3 separate regions of the Homo sapiens genome follow, and regions 2 and 3 are each linked to region 1. Evidence: promoter capture Hi-C in 16 types of primary human blood cells and fetal thymus (Javierre and others, 2016). All regions are on one chromosome and are shown on one strand. The core of a region is centred on a gene start or on the middle of the fragment in contact, and the rest is flanking DNA. Distances in the headings are between cores, read along the strand shown. Region 1 holds the start of COL23A1 (collagen type XXIII alpha 1 chain). Region 2 holds the start of LOC124901224 (U4 spliceosomal RNA). Region 3 overlaps LOC128966623 (a long non-coding RNA gene).

Region 1 (3,307 bases), core at 74-2,573:
GGTAGGTGGTGTGCAGTTTATGTGCCTGTAAGAAATGTAGTGCTGACTTGTAAGAGGGTGTTGGCCTCTTTTCAGAATGAGGCCAACTTTTCATTCTATTGGGCATACACCAGACTTTAGCACAGAGCCAAGTCTATCAACCATAACCCCCGGCCATCTCAGGGGTTCCCCTCTGAATTAAGGGAAGGAGATGGAACATGTTAGCCAGAGGCACTCAACAGTTCTAAAAGGTGAGTATCCACAGAAATGAGACAACCAGAAGATATCCAGAGTGAGAGGGAAGATGGATATAACGTTATTTTTCTTAAAAAAAAATGGTTGGGGGGTTACTCAAATCACAAAGATCTGAACTGCTGGTTTGTTGTTTCATTTAGGTATTACAGGAGTTAGCGAAAGAGTTACTTGGGACCCATTTAGGACATGAATATGCCTGGTAGGAATCTGAACCCAGCCTGACTTCCAGCAGTTCTTCCCTTTCCTGCCAAGACTTGTTAGTGCCACTCATTCTGTTCTCTGGACCCAGGCTGTACGCCACAGCCTTCTTGCCTCAGCCCTGTGATTTAAATTTGCAGCAGAATCGCAGTACAGGTTAAGTGTGGTGCATACTAGATCATAATTTTTGGCCAAGTTGTGCGTCTAATACAGAATTAAGTCATCAGTTGAACAAGACTTGAAGTTCATTTTCTGAATCTTTCCCATTCGTTATAGTCTCAGTTTTCTCAAAAGCCCTCTCCAGGCCAGAAACAGTCTTACCATTTTTGTTTCCCGCACCGAAGTCCGGCAGCTAAGAACTCGTGAGAAGATTCTAAGGGGCGTATTTCTGTTTGGCGCAATCTCGACCCTGCCTCTCTAAATGTGAGTGCGCAGAGGTCGCTTTCCGCCACGAAGCGGCGCTAATCCACCACCGAGGACAGACCCACTCAGTTTTTTGCAGGATTTGAAGTTTTGAACTTTTACAAGTGTCAGAAAGGTAATTCACAAGTTTAGAGGAATGTGCTAAGGCACGAGTGGTGGGTGCTCCAGCCAGGGGTGGGCTGCAGAAGGGGCGCGGTGTCGCCGGGCTCCCCTCCGACCTCTGGGGTCCACAGTGCGGGCTTGGGCTGGGGAAGCCTCAGAGGTGCGTGCGGGGGCGGGTGCCGGCGCCCGGGCTAGGTGAGGGCAGAGGTGCGCGCTGCGCGTGGGATCAGCCCGGCGCCGACGGGTGGCTCCGAGGAGCTCGCTCCTTCCTCGCCCCCGCCCCCTCGCCGCGCGGGGCCAGCCCGGCCGCTCCTCCCCTGGGTGGGTCCCTGCTCCTTTTCTGGCAGGGTCTATTTGCATAGAGGAAACTGCCCAAAGTGGCCGCTGTGGAGGAGCTGGCTGCGGCGAAGGGGGCGTGCGCGGCGATCCGCTGCTACCCGGAGGCTAACCCCCGCGCCCGGCGGACCTCGTGCCTCGGGCTGTCCCGCCTGCTCCTCTCGCACCCAGCCTCTGCCCCAGCAGCACCGCCCCCTCGGAGAGTCCACGCGCGACGAACGCGCCATGGGCCCAGGCGAGCGCGCCGGTGGCGGCGGCGACGCGGGGAAGGGCAATGCGGCGGGCGGCGGCGGCGGAGGGCGCTCGGCGACGACGGCCGGGTCCCGGGCGGTGAGCGCGCTGTGCCTGCTGCTCTCCGTGGGCTCGGCGGCTGCCTGCCTGCTGCTGGGTGTCCAGGCGGCCGCGCTGCAGGGCCGGGTGGCGGCGCTCGAGGAGGAGCGGGAGCTGCTGCGGCGCGCGGGGCCGCCAGGCGCCCTGGACGCCTGGGCCGAGCCGCACCTGGAGCGCCTGCTGCGGGAGGTGAGCGTCTTGGCGCGTGGCTGGGGCGGACTTGGGTGTGTCGGGTTGAGGGTGGCGGTACGCTGGGAGCCGGGGGCAGCGTGCAGGTCTCTGGGAGGAGGGTCGCCCGCCGGCTGCGTGCGCTCGGGGCCGTCCCAGAGATGGGCACGTCTGCGCCAAGGCGGAGGCAGGGGGTGCCGGCCCCAAGGGGTTTTGCGGTCTCCGCTCCGGCCTCAGGGTCCCGTGCCAGGCAGGCGGCCGCGAGAAAGGGGAAGGAGAGACCAGGGACTTTGGAGTAACAGACCTAGGGTCAGTCTCCACGGGGTGTGCGCTCGGACACGCCGCTTCCCGCCGGCGGCCAGAGTCGGGGATAAAGATGAGGCTCGTGGGAAGTATCTGGTGACTGTGACCAGTAGCACCTACTGTTCCTAACCAACGCTGGTACACCTGGAGAGGCGGTGGTCACGGCGGAGGAAAGCCTCAGACAGGCCCGAGGGCTGGGCCCCGCTGTGCTCCAGTGTGTCTCCAGCAGCTCAGGCCCCAAGACTGAGCGGTCACCGTCGCACTGAGGCCTCGGGGATGGGGGTGGGGGCGCCCACATGACTTGGTAAGATGAGAGGAAGGAGAAACAATCGGGGGTGGAGGACCTGGATTCTGGTTTCAGGCGGTGCCATCTGGGGTGTGGGCTCGCAGGACATCCGGAGTTTCCCGTCCCTTACCTGGGAATCGCGACTTCCACAGCTTACTTGAAAGCTCATATGAGGCTCTGTGACACTTCTAAGGGTTAAGATTGCTGCTGTGTGTCTTCAAAGAAAGAGCCACCTTTGGGTCCTCCAAGCCCTCACCCAGCATGTTGGTCAAAGCCTCCGCCTTTTGTGTGCGGCATGTGCGGCAGTTCCCCTCCCCACGAAACTGGACAGGCCCTGGTGGGCTGGCCAGAGCCTCCCCTGCCGAGCCTTCCTCCTTCTCCTGGGATAGATGGCTGCTCCAGACCCCAAGGTCGCTGTCCAAGGGCGCATCCTCAATTGCTGTGTGAAAACAGGCAGGGTTTCAAGGTGGAGGAGAGGGAGCACTGGCCTGTACACCCCCAATTCCCTAGACTGCCCAGCTGGGATCTTTATTAACGTATCCAGCTGTGTTTCCAATGTTGAGTTCCTTTGGATTCCAAAGGAAAGTGGGAGAAGATGACTTGCGTACCACACCTCCTTGTTCACCCCACCTGTTTCTTAGTCACTTTAATTTAAGCTAGGATCACATCTCTTCTAGCTGGGTTCTGGGTAAAATTGCTGCTTCATGAAATGATTTCCTATTTTACCCTTGAAAGGGCCTGCAGACTTAAAACTCTCTCTCAGCCCTGCTGGAAACTCCTGGCGATGGTTTCATAATTGCCGCCCATTAGCTTTTGGCAAATGCCTGGAGACCAGGGTGTTGAATTGATTTATAGAGGGCCAGTAAAGTTTCTACCTGTTAGCGCTATAAGTGTGGCTGCTCTTTCTCATAGGAGGCCTCTCTTATT
Region 2 (3,725 bases), core at 476-2,975, 900 kb before region 1:
GAGTATAAGCCCCATGTCCTAGGCTCTGGGTATAAACCTTGTGTCCTAGGCTCTGAGTATAAGCCCCACGTCCTTTCTGGGTATAAGCCTTGTGTCCTAGGCTCTGGGTATAAGCCCCATGTCCTAATCCCTGGGTATAAGCCCCGGGTTCTAGGCCCTGAATATAAGTTCTGTGTCCTTTCTGGTTATAAGCCTTGTGTCCTAGTCTCTGGGTATAAGCCCCATGTCCTAGGCCCTGGTTATAAGCCCCGAGTTCCAGGCCCTGGGTGTAAGTTCTGTGTTCTTTCTAGGTATTAGCCTTGTGTCCTAGGCCCTGGGCATAAACCTGTGTCCTAGGCCCTGGGTATATGCCCCAGGTTTTAGGCCGTGGGTATAAGCCCCAAGTCCTAGGCTCTGGATAGAAGCCCTGGGTTCTTGGTCCTGGGTATGAGCCCCATATCCTAGGTCACCAACCAGATTGAGAGCCCAGTCAAAGTTCTTTCTCATGGTGTGTCTAGGACGTCAGAAAACCTAGAGATGTGGCCGGACTCTGAGCCCCCTGAAAAGGGTTCCCAGACCTTTTGTGAGAGGGAGGCTTTGTCTGCCCAGAGCCCACCTAGTCTTGGAGTCTTGGAAGGCTGCCCGGCACCTCAGGTAGGCCTGTTTGCACCTCAGCCTCACCCTGGTCTGGGTATCCACTCCATACAGACATGTTTTTAAAAATTGAGGAATAGCTTTGTGCAGTGGCAGTATCATAGCCAATGAGGTTTATCCGAGGCGTGATTATTGCTAATTGAAAAATTGAGGAATAGTTTAGTAAAACACACAGATCTTAAATATATAATTCAATGGCTTTTTACAAATATCTATCTGTAGCCAACACCCCAATCAAGGCAGAAAACATTGCCACCATTGTAGAAAATTCCCCCCAATCCCTTTACAGTCTACTCAACTTCCCTTGTCCCCTAATCCCCAAGCAGCCACTATTCTGATTTGCATTCCAGAAAAGTAGTTTTTCTGGATTTTTTTTTAACTGACTTTCGCTCTTGTCGCCCAGGCTCGAGTGCAGTGGCGCAATCCTGACTCACTGCAACTTCCACCTCCTAGGTTCAATCAATTCTCCTGCCTCAGCCTCCCAAGTAGCTGGGATTAGAGGCGTGCACCACCACGCCTGACTAATTTTTGTATTTTTAGTAGAGACGGGGTTTCACCATGTTGACCAGGCTGGTCTTGAACTTCTGACCTCGGGTAATCCGCCCACCTCTGCCTCCCAAAGTGCTGGGATTACAGGTGTGAGCCACCGTGCCCAGCCTGGTTTTGAATTTAATAAATCTGTATGACATCCTTTGTATGGCTCCTTCAGTTCAAAACACTGTGTTTTTGTTGTTGTTGTTGTAGAGATGGAGTCTTGATCCATTGCCCAGCCTGCTTTCAAACTCCTGGGCTCAAGCAATCCTCTGCTCTTGGCCTCCCAAGTGTTGGGACTGCAGGTGTGAGTCATCGCACCAGCCAGAGTCCAATCGTGTCTCTAGTGAGAGCAGCCACTTTAATATAAAGGCTCAGGAATTCCTCCTCATGTTTGCTGCAGTGGCACTTGCCCTCTGAGTATCAGTTAGCTATTGTCACACTTATGCTGTGTAACAAACCATCCCCACATCTCAGTGGCAAACAGTAATAATCATTTATTTCTTACTCATGAGTTTGTGGGTTGGCTGGGCAGCTCTGCTCCACATGCCTCTCATCCTCTTCCTGGGACCAGCAGGGGCAGTTTCGTCTCTGGCTGATGGCAGGGCCCTGAGAGACGGCACATCTAACCCCACAAACACATTTCCAGTTTTGCTGTGTCATGCCTGCTGGCATCCCTTTGGCCAAGCCCAAAGTCAAGGGGTGGGAAAGGGAGGCTATGGCGAGGGTGTGAGTGTGGGTGAAAAACTGGGGCGGGTCATTCAATCTATGTTACCAGTTTCCTGACAATGTAAGTTAAGAGAAAGAGCTTTGTGGCTGACGCCTGTAATTCCAGCACTTTGGGAGGCCGAGGTGGGCAGATCACAAGGTCAGGAGATGGAGACCATCCTGGCTAACACGGTGAAGCCCTGTCTCTACTAAAAATACAAAAAATTAGCCAGGCGTGGTGGCGGGCACCTGTAGACCCAGCTACTCGGGAGGCTGAGGCAGGAGAATGGCGTGAACCCGGGAGGCGGAGCTTGCAGTGAGCTGAGATCATGCCACTACACTCCAGCCTGGGCGACAGAGCGAGATTCTGTCTCAAAAAAAAAAAAAAAAGGTAAAACTGGTTTGGTTTGCTAGTCCAATTATTTAGTGAATCAGTCCAGTTTATTAGAAATCCCAATGAGGTTGTTTTCAGAAGTGAGACAGGTCTGACCGGATCATTTGCAGAAAGCTCTGTTCTTGCTTTGGGACAGTCCTGCCCGCACTGGGAATGTGAATTTAATCGCCGTTCTCTCGCCGCTGCTCCTGCCCGCCTGGGACCAATTCCCTACCACACTGAGCTCATTGGAGACTTTAGTTTCATATTTTTAAGACCAGTTTAGTGCATCATCTCTGTCTTTATTTCTCCCTCCAGCACTTACTGTAGTTGATCTCTTTTATTTTCTTAGATTCTTTGGGGGGAGTTTATAGGTGGGATGAACCCATATATGCATGAAAATGTCTTTATTTTGCACCCCCAATTTAAGGCTAGATTGGCTGGGTCTTGGATCCTAGATTACGAATAGTTTTTTCTTTGGAATGTTAGAGAAATTGCTCTACTATCTTTTAGGATTCGGGATTGATGATAAGTCTTGATGTCAAGCTGACTTTCATTCTATTGTGACAACCTATTCTCTCGGTCAGAAAACTATGAGGATTTTCCTTTTTTCCTTGGTATTCCAAAATTTTGCTGCAATGTGCCTAGATTTCTAAAATTCCACTTTACTTTTTTTTTTTTTTTGAGATGGAGTCTTGCTTTGTCATCCAAGCTAGAGTGCAGTGGGGTGATCTCAGATCACTGCAACCTCCGCCTCCTGGCTTCAAGTGATTCTCCTGCCTCAGCCTCCCAAGTAGCTGGGATTACAGGTGCGCCACCATGCCAGGCTAATTCTTGTATTTTTAGTAGATAAGGGGTTTTGCCATGTTGGCCAGGCTGGTCTTGAACTCCTAGCCTCAAGTGACTGTCTCAGCCTCCCGCTTTATTTAATTAATTTATTTTGAGACGGAGTCTCTCTCTGTTGCCCAGGCTGGAGTGCAGTGGTGCAATCTCGGCTCACTGCAAGCTCTGCCTCCTGGGTTCACGCCATTCTCTTGCCTCAGCCTCCCGAGTAGCTGGGGCTACAGGCACCCGCCACCATGCCCGGCTAATTTTTTTTGTATTGTTTTAGTAAACACAGGGTTTCACTGTGTTAGCCAGGATGATCTTGATCTCCTGACCTCATGATCCACCCACCTCGGCCTCCCAAAGTGCTGGGATTACAGGCGTGAGCCACCACACCTGGCCATGAGTTCCCTGTCCTTCTCAGGGACAGGGAGTCAGTGATTCCTGGGGAGACTGTCTTTCTTCTCTGGACCAAGTATTCGCACTTTCTATATCAACTGGGGGCAAATGCTGTGCGATGCTGGTGACCTTGCTGATTTATTCCCAGAACATGATGCATTTCCTTCCCCTTTCTTTCCCTTTTGTGCTACTTCTAATTAAGGAAGATATTTCTGTCATTTATGGGATTTTGGTTCGGAGGGAGGTCAATCAGGGG
Region 3 (3,718 bases), core at 448-2,947, 950 kb before region 1:
TTGGTATGGGACATGGGGATCGATGCTTTGGGGTTCAGCAGGGAGTAAATTTTGAATAGGGATCAGTTTTTAAGTGGTTAATTCATTAGTGAATATGTTATCATTACGAATACCTTTGCTTCTCCAAATGGTCTTGTAGCTGCAGGGACTTGGGGAAAGTATCTTCAGATAAAGAGGACCCTGTCTATCTTGAGTTTGGAACATCAGAGCTTTTTGTGGTGGTTGTAACTAAATGGGGTGTAGGTGCTATTGCTAGGATAAATCAGAACATGGCAGTTATTTTATGAAAATAATCTTGTATTTATTAAAGGACTTGCAAAAAAGTTAACCTGAGGATTTGTGTAATGTGTCTCTAAGAGAGAGCTGTCATTACGTTGGTGAAGTGACCAATCCTTTCCCTGTTTGGCACCTCATACCAGCCACAGGGTAGTAAGAATCTCAAGTGCAGCTGAACTCCTGCTTTCAGAGGAAATACCGGGAGACAGTATGAAAAGAAAGGTGGGCTTTACGCCCCTTCCAGTGGCTTCTACAACAAAAGACTTCCTGATTTGGTGACATTTTTCCATGACACGTCATATTGATTTGTCTTGTTCTCCTCTCTGCCCCACACCATTTTATTATAAACAAATCTGAGGCTGGGCGAGGTGGCTCACGCCTGTAATCCCAGTACTTTGGGAGCCGAGGCGGGCAGATTACGAGGTCAGGAGTTCAAGACCAGCCTGACCAACATGGTGAAACCCCGTCTCTACTAAAAATACAAAAATTAGCTGGGCCTGGTGGCGCGTGCCTGTAATCCCAGCTACTCAGGAGGCTGAGGTAGGAGAATCGCTTGAACCTGGAAGGTGGAGGTTGCAGTGAGCTGAGATCGCACCATTGCACTCCAGCCTGGGCGACAGAGTGAGACTCCATCTCAAAAAAAAAAAAAAAAAAAAAAAATTGAAGATAAGCCGGGTGCGGTGGCTCATGCCTGCAATCTCAGCACTTTGGGAGGCCAAGATGGGTGAATCACTTCAAGTCAGGAGTTTGAGACCAGCCTGGCCAACATGGTGAAACCCCATCTCTACTAAAAATACAAAAATTAGCTGGGCGTGGTGGCGCATGCCTGTAATCCCAGCTACTAGAGGGGCTGAGGCACAAAAATCGCTTGAACCCGGGAGGTGGAGGTTCCAGCGAGTCTAGATTGTGCCACTGCACTCCAGCCTGGGCAACAGAGCGAGACTCTGTCTCAAAAAAAAAAAAGAAAATTGAACAGAGATTATAACACTTTTACCATATCTATCCATTTATCATTCCTAATTTCATCTATTACTCTTACTCTTTGGTGTATTTCAAAGGAAATTCCAGACCCTAATAGTTTAAAAAGCTTTTTGTTATTTCAATCCTACAGAAGAGTTACGAGAATAAAGATGGCACAAAGTACAACTGTATGCCCTTGACCCCAATTCACCTGGAGCTCACGTTTACTTCATTCGTGTCATCATCTGCATGTGCTCCCTCTCTAGATCTGTATGGATATAAGCACATTTTTCCTTGGACTTTGTGAGGGTGAGTTACATACATCATGACCTTTTATTTTTAAACTTTTCAGGATATATTTCTTTTTAAAAAATTATATTCAAATTTTATTGCATTAAGATGATGCATTGGTTAGGACTTGAAAAACTTTGTTTTGGCCAGGCGCGGTGGCTCACGTTTGTAATCCCAGCACTTTGGGAGGCCAAGGTGGGGAGATCACGAGGTCAGGAGTTCGAGACCAGATTGGCCAACATAGTGAAACCCCGTCTCTACTAAAAATACAAAAACTTGCCGAGTGTGGTGGCACGTGCCTGTAGTCCCAGCTACTTGGGAGGGTGAGGTAGGAGAATTGTTTGAATGCGGGAGGCGGAGGTTGCAGTGAGCCGAGACTGAGCCATTGCACTCCAGCCTGGGCAACAGACTGATACTCTGTCTCAAACAAAAACAAAAACAAAAAAAACCCTGTTTTATAGAGATACATCTCTTTTTGTTATTTTTCAGCTTTATTAAAGCTTAACAGACATATAAAGATTATATATATTTATGCTATATGATGTGATGTTTTGGTATATGTATGATTAAATCAAGCTAACTAGCATATTCATCACCTCACATACTTTTCATTGTTTTGTGGTGAGAACATTTGCAGTCTACTCTCTTAGCAATTTCTTTTCTTTTTTTCTTTTTTTTTTTTTTTTTGAGACAGAGTCTTGCTCTGTCACCCAGGCTGGAGTGCAGTGGCACAATCTTGGCTCACTGCAGCCTCTGCCCCTCGGGTTCCAGCGATTCTCCTGCCTCAGCCTCCTGAGTAGCTGGGATTACAGGCGCCCGCCAACATGCCTGGCTGATTTTTGTATTATAAGTAGAGACGGGGTTTCGCCATGTTGGCCAGGCTGGTCTTGAACTCCTGACCTCACATGATCTGCCTGCCTCAGCCTCCCAAAGCGCTGGGATTACAGGTGTGAGCCACTGCACCCGGCCAGCAATTTTCTTTTTTTGTTGTTTTTGAGATGGAGTCTCGCTCTATTGCATACACTGGAGTGCAGTGGTGCGATCTTGACTCACTGCAACCTTCACCTCCTGGGTTCAAGTGATTCTCCTGCCTCAGCCTCCTGAGTAGCTAGGACTACAGGTGTGCACCACCACACCCGGCTAATTTTTGTATTTTTAGTAGAGATGGGGTTTCACCGTGTTGCCCAGGCTGGCCTCGAACTCCTGACCTCAAGCGATCTGCCGACCTTGGCCTCCCAAAGTGCTGGGATTACAGGTGTGAGCCACGACGCCTGGCCTCTCTTAGCACTTTTCAAGTGTACAATACACTATTACATATAGTCACCATGCTATATGTACATTAGTTCTCCAGAAACTCCGTTCCTTTCATCATCATCTCCCCATTTCCTACCCCCATTCCCCAGCCCTCCCCTGATAACCGCCATTCTACTCTGTCTTTCTATAAGTTTGAGGTTTTAGATTCCACATGTGAGATCATTAAGTATTTGTTTCTCTGTGCCTAGTTTATTTTACATAGTATGATGTCCTCCGTGTTTATCCAAGTTGTCACAGTGACAGAATTTCCTTTTTTTTTTTTTTTTTTTTGAGGCTGGGTCTTACTCCCTCACCCAGGCTGGAGTGCAGTGGCGCTGTCTTTCCTCAGCTTCCCCGGGTTCAAGTGATTCTTCCATCCCAGCCACCCAAGTAGCTGGGACTACAGGTGTGTGCTACCACACCCAGGTAATTTTTGTATTTTTTGTAGAGACAGGGTTTCTCCATGTTGCCCAGGCTGGTCTCAAACTCCTGAGTTCAGGTGATCCACCTGCCTCAGCCTCCCATAGTGCTGGAATTACAAGCATCAGCCACTGCGCCTATTGGATTTCCTTCTTTTTAAGGGCTGACTTGCATTCCTTTTTAAAAAAGAGATGGAATCTTACTGTATTACCCAGGCTGGAACTCTTGGCCTCAAGCAATCCTTTGACTCTCCCTTCCAAGTAGCTGGGACTACAGGCACGAGCCACCTCGCCTGCCTTCCTTCACATTTACACACAACACATTTTCTTTATCCATAAATCCGCTTAGGTTTTTTCAATATCTTAGCTACTGTGAATAACGCTGCAATGAACATAGGAGTGCAGATAGATCTTCAACATACTGATTTCATTTCCTTCGGGTATATACCTAGAAGTGGAATTGCTGGATCACGTGGGTA

What was found. Contacts are between HindIII fragments. The CHiCAGO score rates a contact against its expected background, and 5 or more counts as called.
Region 2: a fragment that was not itself captured here is called in contact with the fragment with the promoter of COL23A1 in region 1 in 6 of 17 cell types (megakaryocytes, endothelial precursors, M2 macrophages and 3 more); the score reaches 14.8 in megakaryocytes.
Region 3: a contact is called between a fragment that was not itself captured here and the fragment with the promoter of COL23A1 in region 1, in 1 of 17 cell types (endothelial precursors). The highest score is 7.1, in endothelial precursors.

Annotation. Positions count from the first base shown.
Region 1 is chr5:178,588,409-178,591,715 of GRCh38, reverse strand. COL23A1 (collagen type XXIII alpha 1 chain) reads left to right here and starts at 1,323. Exons shown (of 29, transcript NM_173465.4): 1 at 1,323-1,812. The coding sequence starts at 1,519. RefSeq lists a silencer at 1,122-1,321 and an enhancer at 1,977-2,877. The HindIII fragment of the contact is 4,652 bases long and covers 1-3,307 here.
Region 2 is chr5:179,489,144-179,492,868 of GRCh38, reverse strand. It overlaps LOC124901224 (U4 spliceosomal RNA), which reads left to right and starts at 712; the gene lies at 712-854. The HindIII fragment of the contact is 5,384 bases long and covers 1-3,725 here.
Region 3 is chr5:179,538,502-179,542,219 of GRCh38, reverse strand. All of the region lies in intron 4 of LOC128966623 (a long non-coding RNA gene), which reads right to left. It overlaps LOC105377762 (a long non-coding RNA gene), which reads left to right. Exons shown (of 4, transcript XR_941315.4): 2 at 1,388-1,545. Among named protein-coding and RNA genes, the nearest start is that of RUFY1, 10 kb to the left of the region's middle. The HindIII fragment of the contact is 664 bases long and covers 1,366-2,029 here.